4 separate regions of the Homo sapiens genome follow, and regions 1, 3 and 4 are each linked to region 2. Evidence: promoter capture Hi-C in human tissues and cell types (Jung and others, 2019). All regions are on one chromosome and are shown on one strand. The core of a region is centred on a gene start or on the middle of the fragment in contact, and the rest is flanking DNA. Distances in the headings are between cores, read along the strand shown. Region 1 has its middle 13 kb from the start of ERMAP. Region 2 holds the start of ZMYND12 (zinc finger MYND-type containing 12). Region 3 overlaps FOXJ3 (forkhead box J3). Region 4 has its middle 27 kb from the start of CLDN19.

The links. Contacts are between HindIII fragments. The study calls those that stand out against the background at their distance.
Region 1: a fragment that was not itself captured here is called in contact with the fragment with the promoter of ZMYND12 in region 2 in 1 of the 25 tissues and cell types used here (pancreas).
Region 3: a fragment that was not itself captured here is called in contact with the fragment with the promoter of ZMYND12 in region 2 in 2 of the 25 tissues and cell types used here (hippocampus and thymus).
Region 4: a contact is called between a fragment that was not itself captured here and the fragment with the promoter of ZMYND12 in region 2, in 2 of the 25 tissues and cell types used here (neural progenitor cells and psoas muscle).

What each region holds. Positions count from the first base shown.
Region 1 is chr1:42,802,653-42,805,352 of GRCh38, reverse strand. No RefSeq gene overlaps it. Among named protein-coding and RNA genes, the nearest start is that of ERMAP, 13 kb to the left of the region's middle. The HindIII fragment of the contact is 4,811 bases long and covers 1-2,700 here.
Region 2 is chr1:42,454,679-42,457,378 of GRCh38, reverse strand. It overlaps ZMYND12 (zinc finger MYND-type containing 12), which reads left to right and starts at 1,357. Exons shown (of 8, transcript NM_032257.5): 1 at 1,357-1,491. The coding sequence starts at 1,382. It overlaps PPCS (phosphopantothenoylcysteine synthetase), which reads right to left and starts at 836. Exons shown (of 3, transcript NM_024664.4): 1 at 306-836; 2 at 29-132. The coding sequence starts at 813. It also overlaps a transcript of CCDC30 not described here. RefSeq lists enhancers at 486-605, 696-765, 1,006-1,235. The HindIII fragment of the contact is 5,227 bases long and covers 1-2,700 here.
Region 3 is chr1:42,189,877-42,192,576 of GRCh38, reverse strand. FOXJ3 (forkhead box J3) reads left to right here. Exons shown (of 13, transcript NM_014947.5): 9 at 858-1,274. Among named protein-coding and RNA genes, the nearest start is that of GUCA2A, 26 kb to the right of the region's middle. The HindIII fragment of the contact is 3,563 bases long and covers 1-2,700 here.
Region 4 is chr1:42,712,092-42,714,791 of GRCh38, reverse strand. No RefSeq gene overlaps it. Among named protein-coding and RNA genes, the nearest start is that of CLDN19, 27 kb to the left of the region's middle. The HindIII fragment of the contact is 4,114 bases long and covers 1-2,700 here.

The sequences.
Region 1 (2,700 bases), core at 20-2,519, 350 kb before region 2:
GGCCAAACTTCAGCCTTTTATTAGGAACCCACTCCCAAGATAACTAGCCTACTCCAGCAATAACAGACAGCATTAATCATTCATGATGGCAGAGCCCTCATAACCTAATCATCTCTTAAAGTTTCCACCTCTTAACACTGTTGCATTGGGGATTATTTCTAACACACGAACTTTGGGGGACATATTCAAACCATAGCACTCAGAAAATGTTACTTCCCTTCCCAGCCACCTTTCAGATTGTTTCATGGGAAATGTTTTCAGATTTCACATAACCAGGAAAGACATGATCATTGTCTGGAAAGATTCTTAGTTGGGAACTGCTTGTATTAACATCTCTCAGCCTTGGGTATATTCTTGTCGTGGAGAAACACTCTAGTAGGGCACAAGTGGTTGTAAAATCAGTTTAGTAAATTATGACCAGCTTTTCTTTTTAATGAAATAACAAATTAGAAAATACCACATGTGGGGCCGGGCGCAGTGGCTCACGCCTGTAATCCCAGCATGTTGGGAGGCCGAGGCGGGTGGATCACGAGGTCAGGAAATCAAGACCATTCTGGCTAACAGGGTGAAACCCGGTCTCTACTAAAAATACAAAAAAAAAAAATTAGGCGTGGTAGCGGGCGCCTGTAGTCCTAGCTACTCAGGAGTGTTGGGAACAAGCCCCCCAAAATCTGGCCATAAACTGGCCCCAAAACTGGCCACAAACAAAATCTCTGCAGCACTGTGACATGTTATGATGGTCACAACACCCACGCTGGAAGGTTGTGGATTTACTGGAATGAGGGCAAGGAACACCTGGCCCACCCAGGGTGGAAAACCACTTAAAGGCATTCTTAACCCACAAACAATAGCATGAGCGATCTGTGCCTTAAGGACATGCTCCTGCTGCAGTTAACTAGCCCAACCTATCCCTTTAATTTGGCCCATCCCTTCATTTCCCATAAGGGATACTTTTAGTTAATTTAATATCTATAGAAACAATGCTAATGACTGGCTTGCTGTTAATAAATACGTGGGTAAATCTCTGTTTGAGGCTGTCAGCTCTGAAGGCTGTGAGACCCCTGATTTCCCACTTAACACCTGTATATTTCTGTGTGTGTGTGTCTTTAATTCCTCTAGTGCCACTGGATTAGGGTCTACCCTACTGAGCTGGTCTCAGCACAGGAGGCTGAGGCAGGAGAATGGCGTGAACCCACGAGGTGGAGTTTGCAGTGAGTGGAGATCGCGCCACTGCACTCCAGCCTGGGCGACAGAGCGAGACTCAAAACAAAACAAAACAAAACAACAAACAAAAAAAACTGCCACATGTGGTAAGGATATTGTTTGGTGAAACTTTTGTTTTAGGCTTACATACACATGAATGTGTATACTGCATTGGATGTAAAAATTATTCCTTACTGTGGGTTGTGGTAAAAAAAAAAAAAAAAAAAAAATCGAGATACAAGAGGATGCCTGAACCAAGAGAGCAATGGGTCATCTTTGTATTCCCCCTTCCTGTTTTTTTTTTTTTTTTCCCCTTTGAGTCAGGGTCTTGCTCTGTCACCCAGGCTGGAGTGCAAGTGGTACAGTCATGGCTCACTGCAGCCTTGAACTCCTGGGCTCAAGCAATCCTCCTACCTCAGCCTCCCGAGTAGCTAGGACTACAGATGTGTTCCACCACACCCAGCTAGTTTTTTAAAATTTTTTTGTAAAGATGGGGAATCGCCACATTGCCTAGGCTGGTCTCAAACTCCTGGCCTCCCAAATGCTGGGATTACAGGCATGAGCCACCATACCTGGCCTTTTATTCACATTTTAGAAAGAAAAAGATTTATCTTCTACCTCTAAGAAATACCAGCGTAAGGGGTCCAGAGGCCATTGTGTCCATAATTGGAATAACATTGAATGCTAAGGGTCTTATAAGCATAGTCAAAGAAAACTAGGAACACATCATCTCTGCTTACCTGCCCAGAATTCCCTCATCCTGATGTGGTCCATCCCCAGTTTCTCAAAGGTACAGAGATATTTTTGAAGCTTTACATCTAAAACCAATAATGATAACACTGACTTTGGAAGTCAAGCTCTAAGATCCACTACTTGGTGATTGTGTGGGCAAGTGTTAATCTCCCTAAGTCAATACTTTTTTTTTTTTTTTGAGATGGAGTCTTGCTCTGTCACTCAGGCTAGAGTGCAGTGGTGCTATCTCAGCACTGCCTCCTGGGTTCAAGAAATTCTCCTGCCTCAGCCTCGCGAGCAGCTGGGATTACAGGCGCCCGCCACTACACCTGACTAATTTTTGTATTTTTAATAGATATAGGGTTTCACTATGTTGGTCAGGCTGGTCTCAAACTCCTGATCTCAAGTGATCCACCCACCTCAGCCTCCCAAAGTGCTGGAATTAACAGGCACGAGCCACCGTGCCCGGCCCCTAAGTCAATAATTCTTAAGTGTTTTGGTCTCAGGGGTTTTACATACTCTAAAAATTGTTGTATATATCATATTTGCTTTATTAGAAGTTAAAAGCTTAAAAAATATTTACTAATTCATTTAAAAGTGATAACCCATTATAGGATAACATAAATAATATTTTTGTGAAAAAATTTCAAAAATAATCATTTAGTGAGGAGTGGCATCATTTTACATTTTTGCAAATCTCTTTAATATCCAGCATAATGGAAAAAAGCTGAATTCTCATATCTGCTTCTGTATACTGTATTCTCA
Region 2 (2,700 bases), core at 108-2,607:
AGATCTCTGGAAGAGAAGCGCCCATCACCTGCAGTGGGCCCCCAGATGACTGGATCTTGTGTTCAGGCATTTCAGAGACAGGAACATAGAAATCTGACACAGCCGCAGCCAGGTAAAACATCGCAGAAGGGCCTGCAAAGAGAAACACAAGGTGTTAACAAATCGGCGAGGTACGATATAGGATCAGCTCCTTCTCAACTCGGGTTCCCCAGCTGAGATCCGTGGGTAAGCAGGAGGTAAGGGGATAAGTGGCTGGAAAGAAAGGCTGTGCTTCCAGGCAAAAGGGGTACTCCTAGGGCACGCACCTAGCGGATTGAGTGCCTGGGCCGCAGCCTGCAACAGATGCAAATAGTCCGCCAAAGTGGTGAACTCTACTGCCAGGAAGGTGCCTGCAGCCGCAGCCTCCTGGTAGCTCCTCAGAGCCTCAGCAAAACCCGGAAGTGCATTCTCCTCGGCCTCCAGGCTCAGCAAGCCCGAAAGGGCTGGGCCCGAAGGCCGCAGAGCGGACAGCCAAGTCTGGGGTGGGAAGCGGTGGGCATAGGGGAAGGCAGAGCGAGCGCGATACAAGAACAGGACCCCGTAGCCGGCGGCTAGGAAGGCCTCGGCCGAGGTTGCACCGCGCCGCCCGCTGCTGAAGTTGTCCAGGAAGCGCACCGGCCGCGCTTCCAGTGGGACCTTGGTGCCGCCTGACGTAACCAACACCACCCGCCGGCCCTGCGCGCCCAGCCTGGCCGCGAAGCGAGCCATAACCTCAGCCCAGCGCGCAGCACCGGGAGGCTGGGGGAACTCGGCTACCGGATCCATTTCCGCCATCTGCAGCGCAGCGGCCGGCGCCTGCGCACGTTTCGCGGCCGCCGCGCCACGCCCCTTCTCGCCTACCTGGTGTACGCGCCGCGCCGTACTGAGTGGGCGGTTCACTACCCTTCTTTTGACACTAGGTCCCGATCTCGCCAAGTCTGGAAATGCGTAGTTGTTCTGCCCCAGAGCCCAGCGAAAGTGACACTGCAACGAGGGGGATCCCCGGCTGGGTGGGCATCTGGTAGGGTCACGTTCCCTCACGTTCGTTTCCTAGCCTGGGTGAAGAACTGGCCATGTTTGACCCTTACCGGCCACTGTACGGGCCTTTCTGGACTTGGACTCCTTGGGAGTCGTTTCTCGGCCATTTGACCCGTGGGACTTGTGGGTTTTGTGCTGCTTTTTCTTTCTTTCTTCCCCTTTTCCAACTTCAGCAATACACCCAGATGTTAGTCGAGTCACGTCCCGCCGCCCTCTGCCCTTGAAATGCTGGCAAGTACGCAGCCCCGCGATCGTCACGTGACGCCGGGGTTCAGCGTATCCTTGCTGGGCAACCGTCTTAGAGACCAGCACTGCTGGCTGCACCATGAATGTGATCTACCCACTGGCAGTCCCCAAGGGGCGCAGACTCTGCTGTGAGGTGTGCGAAGCCCCAGCCGAGCGGGTGTGCGCGGCCTGCACAGTCACTTATTACTGGTAGGCCCTGAAACGTGGCACCTGGGCGCTATAACTCCCTCCCTCTCTCCCTTTCCCGGGTCTGGCTTGGGTACCTTGCGTTAGCCGTTGCCCCTGACTCTGCAAGGGACACCTCAAAACGGCTTTAAGACAGGCCCCTAAGACTCCCGTGGCCTCGTCTGTCTCATCTCCCACTTATTCGTCACTCATGTTTTCTGAAGGCGTACTCTGTGTTATGCACTATTTTAGGTGCTAAAGTTACTGGGGCAGCTCGGTAGATCAGTTCCTTCAAAGATCTAACATTCCAATGTGGGAGACAAATCAGTAAAGAAACAGGCCGGGCGCGGTGGCTCACGCCTGTAATCCCAGCACTTCGGGAGGCCGAGGCGGGCGGATCGCCTGAGGTCAGGAGTTCGAGACCAGCCTGGCCAACATGGTGAAACCCTGTCTCTACTAAAAAATACAAAAATTAGGCGGGAGTGGTGCTGGGCGCCTGTAATCCCAGCTACTCGGGAGGCTGAAGCAGAAGAATCGCTTGAACCCGGGAGGCGGAGCTCGCAGTGAGCGGAGATCGCGCCACTGCACTCCAGCTTGGGCAACGAGAGTGAGACGATAGTGAATGGGGCAGTATGTGGAAAGCTTTCCCTGTGGAAGAAACATTTGAGCTGCATTTTGAGAGGGCAGTCAGAACCTGCTGTGTACAGGAGTAGTGAAGAAGGGTAGGGCATTCCCGGCATCCGGGACTGCTAGGGCAAATGGCAAAAGAACAGAGTTTGCTAAGGGCCGAGTGGAGAACGTAGTAGTGGAGGGAGCAGTCAGTGATTTTCAAACTGCAGGCCAGGGCCCTTTAGCAGTTTATGAATAAGTCACAATCACCATTTAGAGAAAACAACAACAACAAAAAAGAGCACAGAATGAGTAGAAAGTATCAGGTTAATCCTACCTGAATTGTTTCTTAAAACTTTTGTCTTAGTGTTTTATGTGGACATGTGTGTGTGTACAGGAAAAATGTATTTCTTACTATAGGTTGAGTCAAAATTAGCCGGATGTGGTGGCGTGCACCTGTAATCCTAGCTACTCGGGAGGCTGAAGCAGGAGAATCGTTTGAACCCGGGAGGCGGAGGTTGCAGTGAGCCGAGATCGCTCCATTGCACTCCAGCTTGGGCAACAAGAGTGAAACTGTGTCTCAAAAAAAAAAAAAAAAGTTGGAACATCATTGTGATAGGTAGT
Region 3 (2,700 bases), core at 116-2,615, 260 kb after region 2:
ATTTACAGAGCTCATCCTGCAGCTTACACCTTCACTATGTAGAAAGTAAAAAGTTCCTCTTCATAGTTTCCCTTCTTGTTAAAGAGTAAATCATAAGTGTTAGAAATAATAGTTTCTTTTAAAAACTAACTTCCTTTAAGCCTCCTTACTTTATGCTAATAACTTTTTGTTGGGCCCTATCCTGTGTAGCTGTTAAACATGCTCACAGGCACGTAGTACATTCTATGTCCTTGTACCTTAACTGAGATATTTGTGCTGGACGTGCTCACAGGCATGTTCCAGCTTGCAGCCTATGCCCCTTCCCTATTTGGCATAAACAACTTCCTCTTTTCCTTTGTCTTTCCATTACTTTTACCTATTTGGAAAAGTTTTAAACTATTAGCCAGTCGAGATTTAGTTTAGATTGTGCGGTCTTCTATCAAAGCCTTGGTCTTTATGCCTACAGAGAGCCATCCTGAGTGTGACCCCCACACCTTTCCCACTTTTCCCCGAACATTTCCTTATCTTTCAAGACTCAGTTCAGGCACTGTCTTTAAAAGAAAGGCTTCTCTATATTTTCAGCCTTCTCCTAGCTGAACAGACAAGGAGCAGTTTTCATAATCCTCTGTATACTTTAGCTTTAGTACTTAAATTGTTGGTCATAATCTTGTCTTTCTCTTCCACTTGAGGGTGGGGCATTATATTTCTTCTCAATAACCACAGAGCCTAGTGTGCAGTGGATGTTGGATTAACACTTATTAAATTGAACCAGTGTTGCTTCCTGGCATCATATGCTTTTGTTATGTTAATAATTTTACAAATGTTTGTCATAAAATACAACTGAAATCTGACCATAAATGATCTTGCTTTGTTTTTAGGTTTGATGAACATCCCTTCTGAATCTTCCCAGCAGTCCCACACTTCATGTACCTATCAGCACTCTCCCAGCAGTACAGTGAGCACTCACCCACACAGCAACCAAAGCAGCCTGTCCAACAGTCATGGCAGTGGCCTCAACACCACAGGCAGTAATTCGGTTGCACAGGTCTCACTGTCTCACCCCCAGATGCACACACAGCCATCTCCACATCCTCCCCATCGACCGCATGGTTTACCGCAGCATCCGCAGCGTTCCCCACACCCAGCACCACACCCACAGCAACACAGCCAGCTCCAGTCCCCTCACCCCCAGCATCCCTCTCCACATCAACACATACAGCACCATCCGAACCATCAGCATCAGACGTTAACACATCAGGCACCCCCACCCCCACAACAGGTATCCTGTAATTCTGGTAAGTTTTTGTCTCCTGGTTTGTGTTTGGCTAACTGTGAATTAGGATCTGTCCTTTGTTATTTAGAGCTCATGTAGTATTTACTACCAAAACCTCTTTACATCTGTTTCCTTGCTATAATCCTATAGTTGTAACTCATTTAATTCATAGACTGACCTGGCGACTTTCTTGATTAAAATTTATTGTGGCAACATAGGCAAACCCAGCAACCCTTGCAGGTTTTTATTTTAACTCTTGTTTATAATTTAGATACATTATCTTACATTATCCTGCCAAATCAAGTATAGATGACCACATTTTATATATAGGAAAAGTGCAACTAAAAGAATTTTAAGTAATTTGCTTAAGATCATACTGTGGTAAGTGGTAGAACTGGGGTTTATATTCTGACATGTCTGACTTCAAAGCTTATAACACCAGTTATTCTAAAAGAACTAAAATTAGCAGACATTTGCTAAGTGGGTAGGGTTTGCTCACCCAGTCGCTGCAGAGTTTGCTTTATTTTTATTTGCCAGGTCACTATTTATTAAAGGAGCCTCCTCTTCCTCTTACCCACAACAACAACAACAAATTAGTCATGGCAAATGTCCTGGTTCCTGCTCATAATTTCATTTCAGTTAACCTTTTTCCTACCCTGACCTTTTGACTACCTGAGTTGTGTTTACCTCAAGAGATCTGGATTCTAGTACTGCTTTGGCTGTTGTATTACCTAAGTGACTTAAATCATATAATTCCTTTGAACCTTGGTTTCCTTATCCATGAAGTTCTTCTTGAACTAAAGGATCTGAGTCTGGTAGACTTGCATGTTCGTGGCTCATTTGGATATTAGTTTAATCCCCTCCCACCTAACAAATTTCTTCCTAAGTTACGACTTGCTTCATGGCAGGGTCATGTTGTCTCTAGTTGATTGTTTATTTTAAAAATCCATTATTGGCAGAATTTTGTAATCAAGTAGCCAGTAGTTGATATAGCCAAGAGTTGCCTTGATGTAGCAAAAGCAAACCAACCAGCCCTTTTTATTGGTCTTTATCTTCATCCATCCGGGGGAGGTCCTAGAAACAGTGGCTTGACAGCAGTCACTGAAATGAAGAATTTTCTTCCACTATTCAGCACTGCTGTCTCATTGAAGGTAACTCTTGCTGCATGGCCTCTGACTAATGACTGGTTTGCTGACATACAGATTATGGAGTCTTAAACTCTTCTGATGTCATACCAGAGGATACCATTTCTGACTAAAAATGCCCTGACGTGGATTCATCAGCATTTCTTGCAGAGATCTCACCCTTCTTCCTTCGCTACCTTGGCAGGGGGACTATGTTAAATTTTTTTCTCCTAAGGTTGCCTTGGAAGAAGCATTTACTCTTACTATATGATCTAATCCACCTGCGTTAAGTCATTGCATTAAATTGTACTATGTGTTGCCTCT
Region 4 (2,700 bases), core at 76-2,575, 260 kb before region 2:
GTGGTGGCTGTGTAAGCCAAGATTGCACCATTGCACTCTAGCCTGGGCAACAAGAGCAAAACTCTGTCTCAAAAAAAAAAAAAAAAAAAAAAGCACCAAACAAATTTTGGAACAGAAGAATTAACTGAATGCAATACAAAATACATTTGAAAGCTTTAACAATGGACTACTACATCAAACAGAAGAAAGAATCTCAGAACTTAAAAACAGGCCTTTTGAAATAATCAAGTCAGACAAAAAAAAAAAAAAAATGAATTAAAAAGAAGGCCAGGCACAGTGGCTCATGGCTGTAATCCCAGCACTTTGGGAGGCCAAGGCAGGAGGATTGCTTAAGCCCAGGAGGTCAAGGTCAGCCTGGGCAGTAAAGTGAGACCCTATCTCAATAAAAAGTTAGCTGGGCGTGGTAGCTCCAGCTACACAGGAGGATGAGGCAGGATAATCTCTTGAGCCCAGGAGATCAAGGCTGAAGTGAGCCATGTTAATGTTACTACACTCCAGCCTGGGCAAGAGTGAGACTCTGTCAAAATCGGTCAGTCAATGAGAAAAGCCTTCATGACATCTGTAATGACAAAAAGTGACAGAATATTTGAATTATCAGTGTCCCTGAGGGCAAACAGAGAATGAAAGGGTTAGAAAACCTATTTAATGAAATATTAGATGAAAACTATCCAAGTCTAGCAAGAGACCTAAACATCCAGATCCAGGTGACCCAAAGATCCCCAAACAGTACAAAAAGGTCTTGTACACAGTCAAAACTATCTAAAGCCAAAGCAAAAGAGAGTATACTAAAAACAGCAAGAGAAAAGCAGAGGCACCTACAAAAGAACCCTCATCAGACTAACAGCAGAGTTCTCAGCAGAAACCGTATAGGCCAGGAGAGAATGGGATGAAATATTCAAAGTGCTGAAAGAAAAAAAAATGCCATGCAATGATATTACATGAGCAAAATTATCCTTCACAAATGAAGGAGAAATAAAGTCTTTTCTAGAGAAGCAAATGCTGAGGGAATTTAACACCACTAGACCAGCTCTACATAAAATGCTCAAGGGAGTCCTAAACTTGCAAGAGAAAGGACAACATTTACCATCATTAAAGAGCACTAAAGTATAAAACTCATTGGTAAGTTAAACACACAAATGAGGAAGGACTCAAATGGTACCACTATAACATATCACTAAACCACAATAACAAACAATGAGGAAAAAAAGAAACAAATATACAAAGCAATCAGAAAACAATTAACAATGTGACAATAACAAAATATAACATAGCAATAATAACCTTGAATGTAAATGGGTTAAATTTTCCACTTAAAACACAGACTGGCTGAATGAATAAAGAAACATGATCCAACTATATGCTGCCTACAAGAAACCCACTTTACCTGCAAAGACACATATAGACTCAAAGTAAAGGGACAGAAAAAACACTCCACACAACTAGAAACCAAAAGCAAGCAGGAGCTTTGATACAAGCTATACCTGTATTAAATAAAACAGATATTAAGTCAAAACAGTAAAAAGAGACAAAGAAGGTAACTATATAATGACAAAGGGATCAATCCAGCAAGAGGATATAAAAATTCTAAATATGTATGCACCCAAAACTGGGGCACTGAGACTCAAAAAGTAAATATTGCTAGATCTAAAGAGAGACTTCAATACAATAAAAGCTGGGACTTCAAAACTCCACACTCAGCTTAGACAGATCATCTCAGGAGAAAATCAATAAAGAAATACTGAATTTAAACTGGACCTTAGAGCAAATAAACCTCAGGAGAAAATCAATAAAGAAATGTTGAAGGCTGGGAGCAGTGGCTCACGCCTGTAATCCCAGCACTTTGGGAAGCTGAGGCAGGTGGATCACCTGAGGTCGGGAGTTCAAGACCAGCCTGACCAACATGGAGAAACCCCATCTCTACTAAAAATACAGAATTAGCTGGGCATGGTGGCGCATGCCTATAACCCCAGCTGCTCAGGAGGCTGAGGCAGGAGAATCACTTGAACCCAGGAGGTGGAGGTTACAGTGAGCCACAATCACGCCATTGCACTCCAGCCTGGGCAACAAGAGTGAAACTCTGTCTCAAAAAAAAAAAAAAAAAAAAAAAGAAAGAAAGAAATATTGAATTTAAACTGGACTCTAGAGCAAATAAACCGAAGAGACATTTACAGAGCATTTTAACTACAGAATAGACATTCTTCTCATCAGCACATGGAACATTCTGTAGGACAGACCATATGTTAAACCACAAAACAAATCTCAACAAATTTTAAAAAAACAGAAGTCATATCAAATATCTTCTCAGACAACAATGGAATAAAACTATCAATCAACACCAAGAAGAACTTGAGAAACTTTATGAATACATGGAAATCAAACAACATGCTTTTGAACTACCAATTGGGTCAATGAAGAAATTAGATGGAAACAAAATTTCTTGAAAGAAATGAAAACAGAAACACAACACACCAAAACCTGTTTGATACAACAAAAGCACTACTAAGAGGGAAATTAATAGCAACAAATGCCTACATCAAAAAAGTAGAAAGATTTCAAGTGAACAATCTAATGATGCACCCCAAGAAAGTGAAAGAGCAAGAACAAACCAAACCCCAAATGAGCAGAAGCAGTAAAGATCAGAGAACTAAATGAAATAAAGACTAAAAAAAAATACAAAGGATTAAGATAACAAAAAGCTGG